2 separate regions of the Homo sapiens genome follow, and region 1 is linked to region 2. Evidence: promoter capture Hi-C in human tissues and cell types (Jung and others, 2019). All regions are on one chromosome and are shown on one strand. The core of a region is centred on a gene start or on the middle of the fragment in contact, and the rest is flanking DNA. Distances in the headings are between cores, read along the strand shown. Region 1 has its middle 22 kb from the start of MCHR1. Region 2 holds the start of DNAJB7 (DnaJ heat shock protein family (Hsp40) member B7).

What was found. The method cuts DNA at HindIII sites, captures the fragments that hold promoters and counts their contacts. A contact is called where the count stands out against the background at its distance.
Region 1: a fragment that was not itself captured here is called in contact with the fragment with the promoter of DNAJB7 in region 2 in 1 of the 25 tissues and cell types used here (small bowel).

The regions. Positions count from the first base shown.
Region 1 is chr22:40,698,475-40,704,227 of GRCh38, reverse strand. No RefSeq gene overlaps it. Among named protein-coding and RNA genes, the nearest start is that of MCHR1, 22 kb to the right of the region's middle. The HindIII fragment of the contact is 6,289 bases long and covers 1-5,039 here.
Region 2 is chr22:40,860,863-40,867,027 of GRCh38, reverse strand. It overlaps DNAJB7 (DnaJ heat shock protein family (Hsp40) member B7), which reads left to right and starts at 4,915. Exons shown (of 1, transcript NM_145174.2): 1 at 4,915-6,165. The coding sequence starts at 5,034. The coding sequence ends at 5,963. All of the region lies in intron 1 of XPNPEP3 (X-prolyl aminopeptidase 3), which reads right to left. The HindIII fragment of the contact is 4,259 bases long and covers 2,544-6,165 here.

The sequences.
Region 1 (5,753 bases), core at 646-3,145, 160 kb after region 2:
CAATAAATAAATAAAGTAGAGAGTGGTCGACTGAGTGGTCAAGGAGATGGAGACAGCAGGGGACTGGTCACATTTAGGAGTGCTTTACCGAAAAGATGGATGGCATTTAAGATTCCCTTCCCCGTTTCCTTCAGAAGATTTTTCTTAATTTCTGGTTTCTTGCTCTTTACTCCATTTCCCAAGGAAGGAAGGAAAGAGAGTTGGGGAGGCCACCAGAAATGTATAAGCTCTGGCAAAGCTCTTATTGGCTGGCGGCCAGGCTGAGGCGGGGCAGCCACTCTCCAGGCTTGGGTGGGCCTGCTGTGCCAGCCAGCTGGTCTCAGATGGTTAGTGCAGGGAGGGTGGGCTGACCCGAGGGGACACCATGCAAGGCAGAGGTGCCAGGCAGCATGTGCCCAAAGTCCATTTGTCTGGCAAGTAAGAGCTTTGTCCAGGGTTGGTAATGTTGCCGGCATTTAGCTTTTGGGCCTTTTTTTCTGGAGAGACTAGGATAGAGAGACAGCAGAACTGCCATGAACCAAACTCTCTCGTTTTTCCCTTTTGCAATGAATTGGTTTGTCTCCAGGCTGCTGTTACAACCACGTAATTGCAACCAGGTTACTTTCTTTCTTCTTATTTTTTTTTCAACCTCTAAATCTACTTTAAACTTTCTTTGTTTCTAATAGAGATGGGGTCTTCCTATGTTGTCCAGGCTGGTCTCAAACTCCTGGGCTCAAGTGATCCTCCTGCCTTGGCCTCACAAAGTGTTGGCATTACAGGCATGAGCCACTTCAACAAGCCCAGATTACTTTCTTGTCACATGTTGCAAAACAGACCCCAGGAGGATCTGAGAACACAGAATGTATCAAGCTGAGACACAGACAAGGACACAGTGGGGATACCCATGTGACTGATCCTAGCCAATAAGTGTGTTCCACTTCTCTGGTTTTCATGCTTGATTGGGTGGAAGTGGGAAGATATGTAACTCATACAGGACCAATCAGAGGCTTATTCAGGGTTTGAAACAGACACTGGGGAGAAAGGTGGCAAGGAGTACCGGGTAGCAGGAAAGAAGATATGCTAATTCCTGGAGCTGCTGCCAGTAGGAACAAGGCAAGTTTACATGCCTGCTGGGCACCATCTTTGCTACCACTTGGGAGAACATCCCCTATGAGAAGGAAGCCAAAAGAGAGGAAAACTGAGCCAGACAGTGAGGAGAGATAAATCGTGAGGAAGAGGGTGGGCGCGGTGGCTCACGCCTGTAATCCCAGCATTTTGGGAGGCTGAGGTGGGTGGATCACAGGTCAGGAGTTCAAGACCAGCCTGGCCAAGATGGTGAAACCCTGTCTCTACTAAAAATACAAAAAAAAAAAAAAAAAAAATTAGCTGGGCGTGGTGGCGAGGGCCTGTAATCCCAGCTACTCGGGAGGCTGGGGCAGAGAACTGCTTGAACCTGGGAGGCAGAGGTTGCAGTGAGCTGAGATTGCACCACTGCACTCCAGCCTGGATGACAGAGCGAGACTCCATCTCAAAAAATAAATAAATAAAATAAAATAAAATGTGAGGAAGAGAGAAAGGGAATGTCTGTCCCGATGGCCTTGAGCCCTTGGATCCAGTCATGACTTAAAGCCAGATCTAGTCCTCAACGTTTCCCTTTAATAAGCCAATACATTCCCCCTTTTTGCTCAAATCAGAGTTAAATTTCTAACATTTACAACAACAACAAAAAAAGCTCTCACAAATCATCTTAGTCAGCTCAGGCTGATATAATAAAATACCGGGCGGCTTAAACAACAGGCATTTATTTCTCCTGATTCTGGAGGCTGGGAAGTCCCAGATCAAAGTGCCAGCCAATTGCATTCCTGCTGAGGATTCTCTTCCTGGCCAGACTTGGCCGGGTGTGGTGGTTCATGCCTGTAATCCCAGCACTTTGGGAGGCCGAGGTGGGCGGATCACCTGAGGTCAGGAGTTCAAGACCAGCCTGGCCAACATGGTGAAACCCCATCTCTACTAAAAATACAAAATTTAGCTGGGCTTGGTTGTGGGCACCTGTAATCCTAGCTACTCAGGTGGCCGAGGCAGGAGAATCGCTTGAACCCGGGAGGTGGAGGTTGCAGTGAGCCGAGATTGCGCCATTGCCCTCCAGCCTGGGCGAAAGAGGGAGATTCTGTCTCAAAAAAAAAAAGAAAGGTTACTTCAGAAAGTATAGTGAGCTGAAATTGTGCCACTGCACTCCAGCCTGGGTGACAGAGTGAGACTCCATCTCAAAAATAAATAAATAAATAAAAGACTCTTTCTGGCTTGCAGACATCAGTCTTCTGTATCCTCACAGAAGTGTGCAGGTGGAGAGAGGCAGAGGGGAAGCAAGCTTTCTGATGTCTCTTCTTATAAGGGCCACACCCTCAAGACTTCCTCTAAACCGGATCGCTTCCCAAAGACTCCATCTCCAGATACTAACACATTTGGGGGTTAGGGCTTTGTTTTGCAGCAGAGTGAGAGATCACCTCCAACCTCATGTGCCTCTTATGTGGGCTCTCAGCTATATCTAGAGACCAAATTGACACAAGGCAGAGTAGCAAGATAAAAGCATATAAGCTTTATTAGTTTTCCATGTACACAGGGATCTTCACAAGAGTGAAGTCTGAAGAAGTGGCCAAAGTAAGATGCATTTATACTTTTTCGACAAAGAACAATACATTTGAGAAGAAATAACAGGGCAAAAGGGATCTGGTTACGGGCAGTAAATTTCTAAGGGAGTCACCGGGAGATGTATGGGAGGGTATACAACCAGCAGAATAGAAAGGTCATTTCGGGCGCCAGGTGCAGTGGCTCATACCTGTAATCCCAGCACTCTGGCAGGCCGAGGCAGGCGGATCATCTGAGGTCAGGAGTTTGAGACCAGCCTGGCCAAAATGGTGAAACCCCATCTCTACTAAAAGTACAAAAATTAGCCAGGCCTGTTGGTGCATGCCTGTAATCCCAGCTACGCGGGAGGCTGAGGCAGGAGAATCTCTTAAACCCGGGAGGCAGAGGTTGCAGTGAGCCGAGATTGTGCCATTGCACTCCAGCCTGGGTGAGACAGATTCTGTCTCAAAAAAAAAAAAAAAGGAAAAGAAAATAAAGGTTACTTCATGAAGTATAGTTGTTCAGGTCCACTGCACTGCAGCCCCCAACTTCCAGTCTCTGGTGATAAGGGATATTTTCACCCCCCTGATAAGGGGAGTGTACCCCTCCCAGAGGAATCCTTATGGCTTGCTGCATGCAGGAAGAGACAGGTCAGCTCACCCTTTCTGAAACCACATTTTCTCCAAAGTTTTCTTTTTTTTTCTTTTTTTTTTTTTCTTGAGACAGTCTCACTCTGTTGCCCAGGCTGGAGTGCAGTGGCATGATCTTGGCTCACTGCAACCTCCGCCTGCTGGGTTCAAGTGGTTCTCCTGCCTCAGCCTCCAGAATAGCTGGGATTACAGGTGCATGCCACCATGCCCAGCTAATTTTTGTATTTTTTAGTAGAGACGGGGTTTCACCATGTTGGCCAGGCTGGTCTCCAACTCCTGAGCTCAGGTGATCCACCTGCCTTGGCCTCCCAAAGTGCTGGGATTACAGGTGTCTTTTTTTGTTGTTGTTAATATAGAGAAAGGGTTTCACTTTGTTGCCCAGGCTGGCCTCGAACTCCTGAGCTCAAGTGATCCTCCTGCCTTTGTCTCCCAAAGCGCTGGGATTACAGGCACTCACGCCTGGCCCCTCCAATGTTTTCAACGAAATAATCAACATACCAATTTGGCATATTTTGGGATGGCACATACTTCACTCCTTCAGCTTCAACCTAGGAATTTTTAGAGGACACAATTCAGTCCACAGCACCAATACACCGACCTGATCCTAAAAATGTTTATAACTTTCTTAACACTTAGGGCATCCTCATTTCAAGTAACAGAAAACACACTTCAAATAGCTTTTAAAATAAATTAGACAGGGGTGGTGGTATATGCTTGTAGTCCCAGCTACTTGGGAGGCTGAGGTGATTGGTTAAAGCCAGTGAGGGCCCATCCCTGGAGCTGGGATGAAGTCAGTACTTTCTAAACCACAAGGTTGGAAGTTCAGGATATTGTCAGGAATGGGTTATGGAGTCTAGGAAGACAAAACTGAATGTCCACTATACCATTTGATTAGATTTAATTCCACTGCTAAGAGTTTATCTAATGGAATAATTAGAGGAAGAATAAGAGGCAAGTTTATTGCACCCCAGCCAAAGTAGTATATTTACCACTTCTGTGTAAGTTAGGGGTTGCCTTTGACTGGCAATTAACAGAAAAGTTGCTTAAACAAATACAGATTTATTTTTCTTGCACAACAGGAAGTCTAGAAGATGGTGTTTGTTCCACAAATCAGTGATGCCTTGGGTACCCTGTTCTTTTTTTTTTTTTTTTTTTTTTTGAGACAGAGTCTTGCTGCGTCGCCCAGGCTAGAGTGCAGTAGTGTGATCTTGGCTCACTGCAACCTCCATCTCCCGGTTCAAGCAATTTTCCTTGCCTCAGTCTCCCGAGTAGCTGGGATTACAGGCGCCTACCACCACACCCGGCTAATTTTTGAATTTTTTAGGAGAGACAGGGTTTCCCCATGTTGGCCAGGCTGGTCTTAAACTCTTGACCTCAGGTGATCCATCTGCCTCGGCCTCCCAAAGTGCTGGGATTACAGGTGTGAGCCACCACGCCCGGCCAGTACCCCTGTTCTTTGCCTTCTTGCCTCATCAACCTTAGTATTTCGGTTTGTATTCTTAGGGTCCCAAGACAATATGTGCACCTTCAGACGTTGCGTCTGCATTCAAGACAGGGAGAAAGGAGGAAGAGCCCGGCTAGTACCAACCTTATCTGTTTTCTTTTATGAGGAAAGAAAACCTTTTTCTGAGACAGGCACAGTGGCTCATGCCTGTAATCCCAGCACTTTGGGAGGCCGAGGTGGGCGGATCACCTGAGATCAGGAGTTCAAGACCAGCCTGGCCAATACGGTGAAACCCCGTCTCTACTAAAAATACAAAAAATTAGCTGCGCGTGGTGGCAGGCGTCTGTAATTCCAGCTACTTGGGAGGCTGAGGCAGGAGAATTGCTTGAACCTGGGAGGTGGAGGTTGCAGTGAGTCGAGATCGTGCCATTGCACTCCAGCCTGGGTGACAAGAGTGAAACTCTCTCTCAAAAAAAAAAAAAAAAAGAGAGAGAGAAAAGAAAACCTTTTTCCAGAAGTTCCCACAGTAGTTCTCTGCTTAGGTCCTGTGGATCACTCTTAGTTGCAATGAAGGCAGGGAACCCTGGAGGCTGGATTGTCCTGATAGGGCTTAGACTACTCATGGTCCATCGCCTGGGGGTTCTGGTAGTCAAGAGGAAGGGGACATGCATGTTAGGTGGCCACCCATAATTTCACCAAAAAAAATGTGTGTGGGTTTTTTTGTTTTTTGTTTGTTTTTGAGACAAGGTCTCACTCTGTCACCCAGGCTGGAGTGCAATGTCACAGTCACAGCTCACTGTAGCATCCACCTCCCAGGCTCAGGTGATCCTCCTGCCTCAGCCTTCCAAGTAGCTGGGGCCACAGCCATATGCCACCACACCTGGTTAAATTTTATTTTGTTTCTTTCGTAGAAACCGGATCTTGCTTTGTTGCCCAGGCTGGTCTCAAACTCTTGGGCTTAAGCGATCTGCCCACCTCGGCCTCGCAAAATGCTGAGATTACAAGCATGAGCCATGGTACCTGGTATAAACACACCCAACCTTCCCACTTTTACC
Region 2 (6,165 bases), core at 3,666-6,165:
TCTCTCCTCCTGCACCTTCTCCACATGCACGCTCGTGCACACGTACTCATGCACACATAGTGTCTTCTGTAATCTCATTAGGCAGTAAAATTTCAGAATATAAAAAGTTAACTGATTCCTTTTTCAATGCTCATATGAAATAATCCTAGCATATTTTGGACCACTCTCAAGCAGAGGGAGCTTAACTTTATTAAATTCAAAGCAAACAAGTAACACTTTAACAGGAGACATAAATTAAGATGTTTATTCCCAGTAAATTTTTAAAAAAGGTCTCAATAGCTTTTTACTTACATTAAACATCTTTTGCCCGAAGTCATATAATTAGTAGCAAAGCTGGTGTGTTAAGTCCTATTTCAAAAATATCCAGTTCATAAGCTTCAAACTCTTTTGCTTAGGAAACTTCATGATTTGGATCCTGCTCCCTTATCTGACCTAATCCTCAAAAAACATTATTGCAGCCACACTAAGCTACTTGAAGAACCCCGGCTAAATCATTCTGCATCATAATAGCATTTGCATTAAAAAATATAGTTCTCTTAGTCTAAAGTGGACACTGCCTGCTTATACGATTACAGAAATTCTAAAAAATACCAGCTCAAACATCACTTACGCAAGAGACTTCTCTTACTCTTCTCACACCTACTGCCTCTGTTCTGCTTGTTTCAGATGTCTTCCCCAACGCTCCTATGATTTCTATTTTAATACCTACTACACTTCACATAATTGCTAATTAGTTTGCCAGTCTACTATGAACAATCTTTGGAAGCAGAGATCACTTGTTATTTGACTTTATTTTCCCAGTGACTTGATTTGAAATGTATTTTGAAGTTAAAAGTCAATGAGTCTGGCTTCTAATTGGACATAAGAAATAAAGAAAAAAGAGGAATTAAGAATAATTCTTGATTTTTGACTTGAACAAGTGAATAAATGGTTGTACCACTACATGCAACAGGAAAGCCTGAGATATTTATTGGAAATAAATTTAATGGAGAGGTCAAAGAGCAATCTTAATTTCAGGGAGAAAAGTGCTAGGCTAGATATATAAATTAGGGTGTTATAAGCACACAGATGGCATCTAAAGCCCTGGGAATGGGTATTACCCAGGGAGACTGAACAAAGCCTGGCACTGTAATATTTTAGTGTGAGAAAGAGCACAGGAGAAAGAAGGAAAACTAGAAGAGTACAGTATTTAGTGCTGGGCATGGTGGCTCATGCTTGTAATCCCAGCACTTTGGGAGGCCGAGGCAGGCAGACAGATCACTTGAGGCCAGGAGTTCGGGACCAGCCTGGCCAACATGGCTAAACCCTGTCTCTACCCGCTGCCCCCCCGCCCCCCACAAAAAAAGAGTGTGGTATTTAGGAAGTTAAAAAACAAGTGTTTTAAGAAGTGGGGAGGACTATGCCAGGCGCAGTGGCTCACACCTGTAATCCCAGCACTTTGGGAGGCCGAGGCAAGTGGATCACCTGAGGTCGGGAGTTCGAGACCAGCCTGACCAACATGGAGAAACCCTGTCTCTACTAAAAATACAAAATTAGCCAGGCATGGTGGCACATGCCTGTAATCCCAGCTACTCGGGAGGCTGAAGCAGGAGAATGGCTTGAACCTGGGAAGTAGAGGTTGCAGTGAGCCGAGATCACACCACTGTACTCTAGCCTGGGCAACGAGAGTGAAACTCCATCTCAAAAAAAAAAAAAAAAAAAAGTGAGGAGGGCTCACAGTGTGGCAAGTGCTTCAAAATACAAGGAAGCCAAAAGGACAACCACTGGATATGGTAACATCAATCACTGGAGACCCTGGCGATTTTAGCAGAGTAAAGAAGACAGAAGACAGATTGGAGTATGCCAAGGAGGGAATAGGATGTAAGAAAGCAAAGACACTGAGACAATACTCTGGATAAGTTTTGTTGTGAAGAGGCAGAGAAAATGGCACAGCGGATGGCTGGGAGGCAAAGGATCAACAAAGAAGGGTATAACTGCAGAAACAAGTGCTCGTATTATAACTTTACACTCCACTGAAATTAGTTTTTTCAAACTATATGAATTTCTTAAGAGCAGAATTTCCTATTTTCTACCTTTTCTCTGTATCATAGTGTCAGAGGCGTTTGAACCAGAGCAACTCCATCTTCAGTAGGGGTTTGGTAAAATAAGGCTAAGACCTACTGGGCTACATTCCCAGTAAGTTAAGGCAGTCTTAATCACAGAATGAAATAGGAAGTCAGCACAAAATGCAGGACACAAAAACCCTGCTAATAAAACAGGTAGGTTATAGTAAAGAAGCTGACCAGCTGGGTGCGGTGGCTCATGCCTGTAATCCCAGCGCTTTGGGAGGCTGAGGCGGGCAGATCACCTGAGGTTGGGAGTTCGAGATCAGCCTGACCAACATGGAGAAACCCCCTCTCTACTAAAAATACAAAATTAGCCGGGCGTGGTGGTGCATGCCTGTAATCCCAGCTACTCAGCGGGCTGAGGCAGGAGAATGGCTTGAACCCGGGAGGTAGATGTTGCAGTGAGCCAAGACCCCACCATTGCACTCCAGCCTGGGCAATAAGAGCGAAACTCCACCTCAAATAATAATAATAGTAACAATAATAATGAAAATAAAATAAGTCCCTGTCAAATTTAGACACTGCGAACATCTTCTCCTAGACTGTCACCTTCCTGTGAGCTTTACCTGTGATGTTCTTAAAAAAAGGAGCTGGCCAAACCCCACTAAAACTAAGATGGCAATGACAGTAACCTCTGATTGTCCTCACTGCTACACTCCCACCAGCACCCCAAGAGTTTACAGATGCCATGGCAACGTCAGGAAGTTACCCTATATGGTCTGAAATGGGGAAGCATGAATAATCCACTTCCTGTTTAGGATATAATCAAGAAATAACCATAAAAATGGGCAACCAGCAGCCCTTGGGGCTGCTCTGCCTATGGAGTAGCCATTCTTTATTCCTTTACTTTCTTAATAAACTTGCTTTTACTTTACTCTGTGGATTCCACTGAAATTCTTTCTTGCACGAGATCCAAGAACCATCTCTTGGGGTCTGGATTGGGACCCCTTTCCGGTAACAGCAGGTTCTCAGTATCTGTTTGTGGAATGCCTAGAACCTAAACTCTTTAAGTCCTAGTCCGAGAAATGCAGTAGAGTGGAATGAGAACTTGAAATTAGACTCAAGTTTAAAAATCAGATTTTTCACTAACAAGCTATGTAGCCTTAGACAAATTACTTTCTCTCTCAGAACGTCTGTTTTCTTATGGGCATAAAATATTTATTTTGCTAGAGTGCTGTGTCAGTTAAATGAGCACTTGCTACAGTGTGACTCAGAGGGTACTCAAATAATTTTCGACATTATTGGTTATTATTTCCAGTGGTAGGCAAATTATAATCATGGGTAAGCCACACATAAGTACATGTAAGCACATACACTGGAGAGAATTTAAATTGAGTTTTAAGCATTTCACAATACCTCTAAAAAATGAGTATATATAAAAATGCAAAGCAAAAAAATATTCAGACCTGACAAATGGTCTTGAAAGACTAGAAGCATACACTACAGTTTTAGATTTCATTAGCGTATCATTTAACTGAGGGGTTATAAATGTGATGGAAAATAAAATAAACACAACATAGAGGAGGAAAAACAAAGATTACAGGGAATTTTCTCAGACAATAAAATGAGCCAGGTATAGAATATAAGACCTTTAAATTCGGGTCTAGACTACTGGTAGTTTATCCCCAAAGAAAATCACCTTTGGTCTGTTTCTAATTTGGCTCTCGAATTCTACTTTCCCATACATGACTGAATTTCCAAATAGTAGCCACTGATCCATTACAAATGTAAATCACATCATTAAACTTGCATATTCCCCACTCCCCACAAAGGCTTCCCACTGTACTTGAAATAAGTGCTAGCTTTATGTCCAACAGCCCCAACTGGCAACAACCAAAATGTCCATCAACATGGCCAGTGGCTACCATATTAGATCACTATGTGGCTGACTGTCATATAGGTCTCAGCAATAATGTCATCTCCTCAGAAGCCTTCTAAAACCAATCTAAAGTAGCGCTCTGCCCCCAGCACATTGCTATTTTTTTTGGAGCACATATCGCATTATCTTAAATTATTTTATTTGTTCTCCTATTTGTATTCTATTATAATGCAAGCACCAGGAAAACTGGTGTCTTTTGTTCAATACTGCTATCACCAGTGGCTAAAACGGTGCCTGGCACAAAGTAGACAATCAATAATTATACAGTGAATACATAAACACACAACTTTCCAAATCTTTAATTACATGTTTTACAGCAGTAAACCTTGGGTGGACAAAGATACTATAATCTCAAATGACTTACCACTGGCATGCAGAAAGTTAACATATCAGGCTACTTCCTCCAAGAGGCTTTCATTGACACCCCCAGCCTGAGCTGTCTCTCATATAATTGTTTAGCATCCAGTACTTCCTCTCATCATAACTATTATATTGTAACTAAGTTACTTGTTTGTATCTCCCTCTGAACTGTTTCTTGACTGAAATAAATATGTCAACTGTTTGAATACTTTCTTCACCCGTAAGTCAGTACTTCATTTTTCTAAACCAAAGCATAGAAGAGCTGGGAAGCAATTAAGGCGCAGTAATCTAGAGGTCATATTATGCAAGGGATATGCTGTGGCTATTAGCAACAGATTCCATTGGCTTATGAGGCACTGCCTGAAGCTTCCAGGGAAACATACAGGGGAAACAGTCCAGAGGATTCAGGATGGTCTGGTACGACTCTGGACTAGCTCTATTTGGAAGGTCCAGTCCCTACACTGACCCCAGAATGACACCATAATGCAGCCCTCTCTGACATATTTGTAACTCTGCTTGCCACATAATCAGTATCCTCATCTCTTAGCACATGGTAATAACATTGTCTTTAACATAAAAGTGTACCTATTTGCAGTCACTACCTCTATCACCACCACCAGCAGAGCCTGAGCTGAGGAAACCACGGTTCTCAATACCCAGCACACCCACTTCCAACTATCTGTTAAAACATGGTGGATTACTATGAAGTTCTAGGACTGCAAAGATATGCTTCACCTGAGGACATTAAAAAAGCTTATCATAAAGTGGCACTTAAATGGCACCCTGATAAAAATCCAGAAAATAAAGAAGAAGCAGAGAGAAAATTCAAAGAAGTAGCTGAGGCATACGAGGTATTATCAAATGATGAGAAACGGGACATTTATGATAAATATGGCACAGAAGGATTAAACGGAGGTGGAAGTCATTTTGATGATGAATGTGAGTACGGCTTCACATTCCATAAGCCAGATGATGTTTTTAAAGAAATTTTTCATGAAAGGGATCCATTTTCTTTTCACTTCTTTGAAGACTCGCTTGAGGACCTGTTAAATCGTCCAGGAAGCTCCTATGGAAACAGAAACAGAGATGCAGGATACTTTTTCTCCACTGCCAGTGAATATCCAATTTTTGAGAAATTTTCTTCATATGATACAGGATATACATCACAGGGTTCATTGGGGCATGAAGGCCTTACTTCTTTCTCTTCCCTGGCTTTTGATAATAGTGGGATGGACAACTACATATCTGTTACAACTTCAGACAAAATCGTTAATGGCAGAAATATTAATACAAAGAAAATTATTGAAAGTGATCAAGAAAGAGAAGCTGAAGATAATGGAGAGTTGACATTTTTTCTTGTAAATAGTGTGGCCAATGAAGAGGGCTTTGCAAAAGAATGCAGCTGGAGAACACAGTCATTCAACAACTATTCACCAAATTCTCACAGCTCCAAACATGTATCTCAATATACTTTCGTGGACAATGATGAGGGAGGTATATCTTGGGTTACCAGCAACAGAGATCCCCCTATTTTCTCAGCAGGAGTCAAAGAGGGTGGTAAGAGGAAAAAAAAGAAGCGTAAAGAGGTGCAAAAGAAGTCTACCAAAAGGAATTGTTAAATTGACTCTTCAAATATATAACATTTGAACACAATTGTGTGTGTTTTGGTTAATCACAAATTTTGTAGATAACACTTAATACTATACTAAGAGCTTTTCAACACTTTTAGCAGGATTGTGGACATTTGGTTAGTAGTTTTTTTGAATGGGTATGTCAGAAAAGGATGAGTTTGTGGTGACAGTTGGTGCTAATAAGAATTTG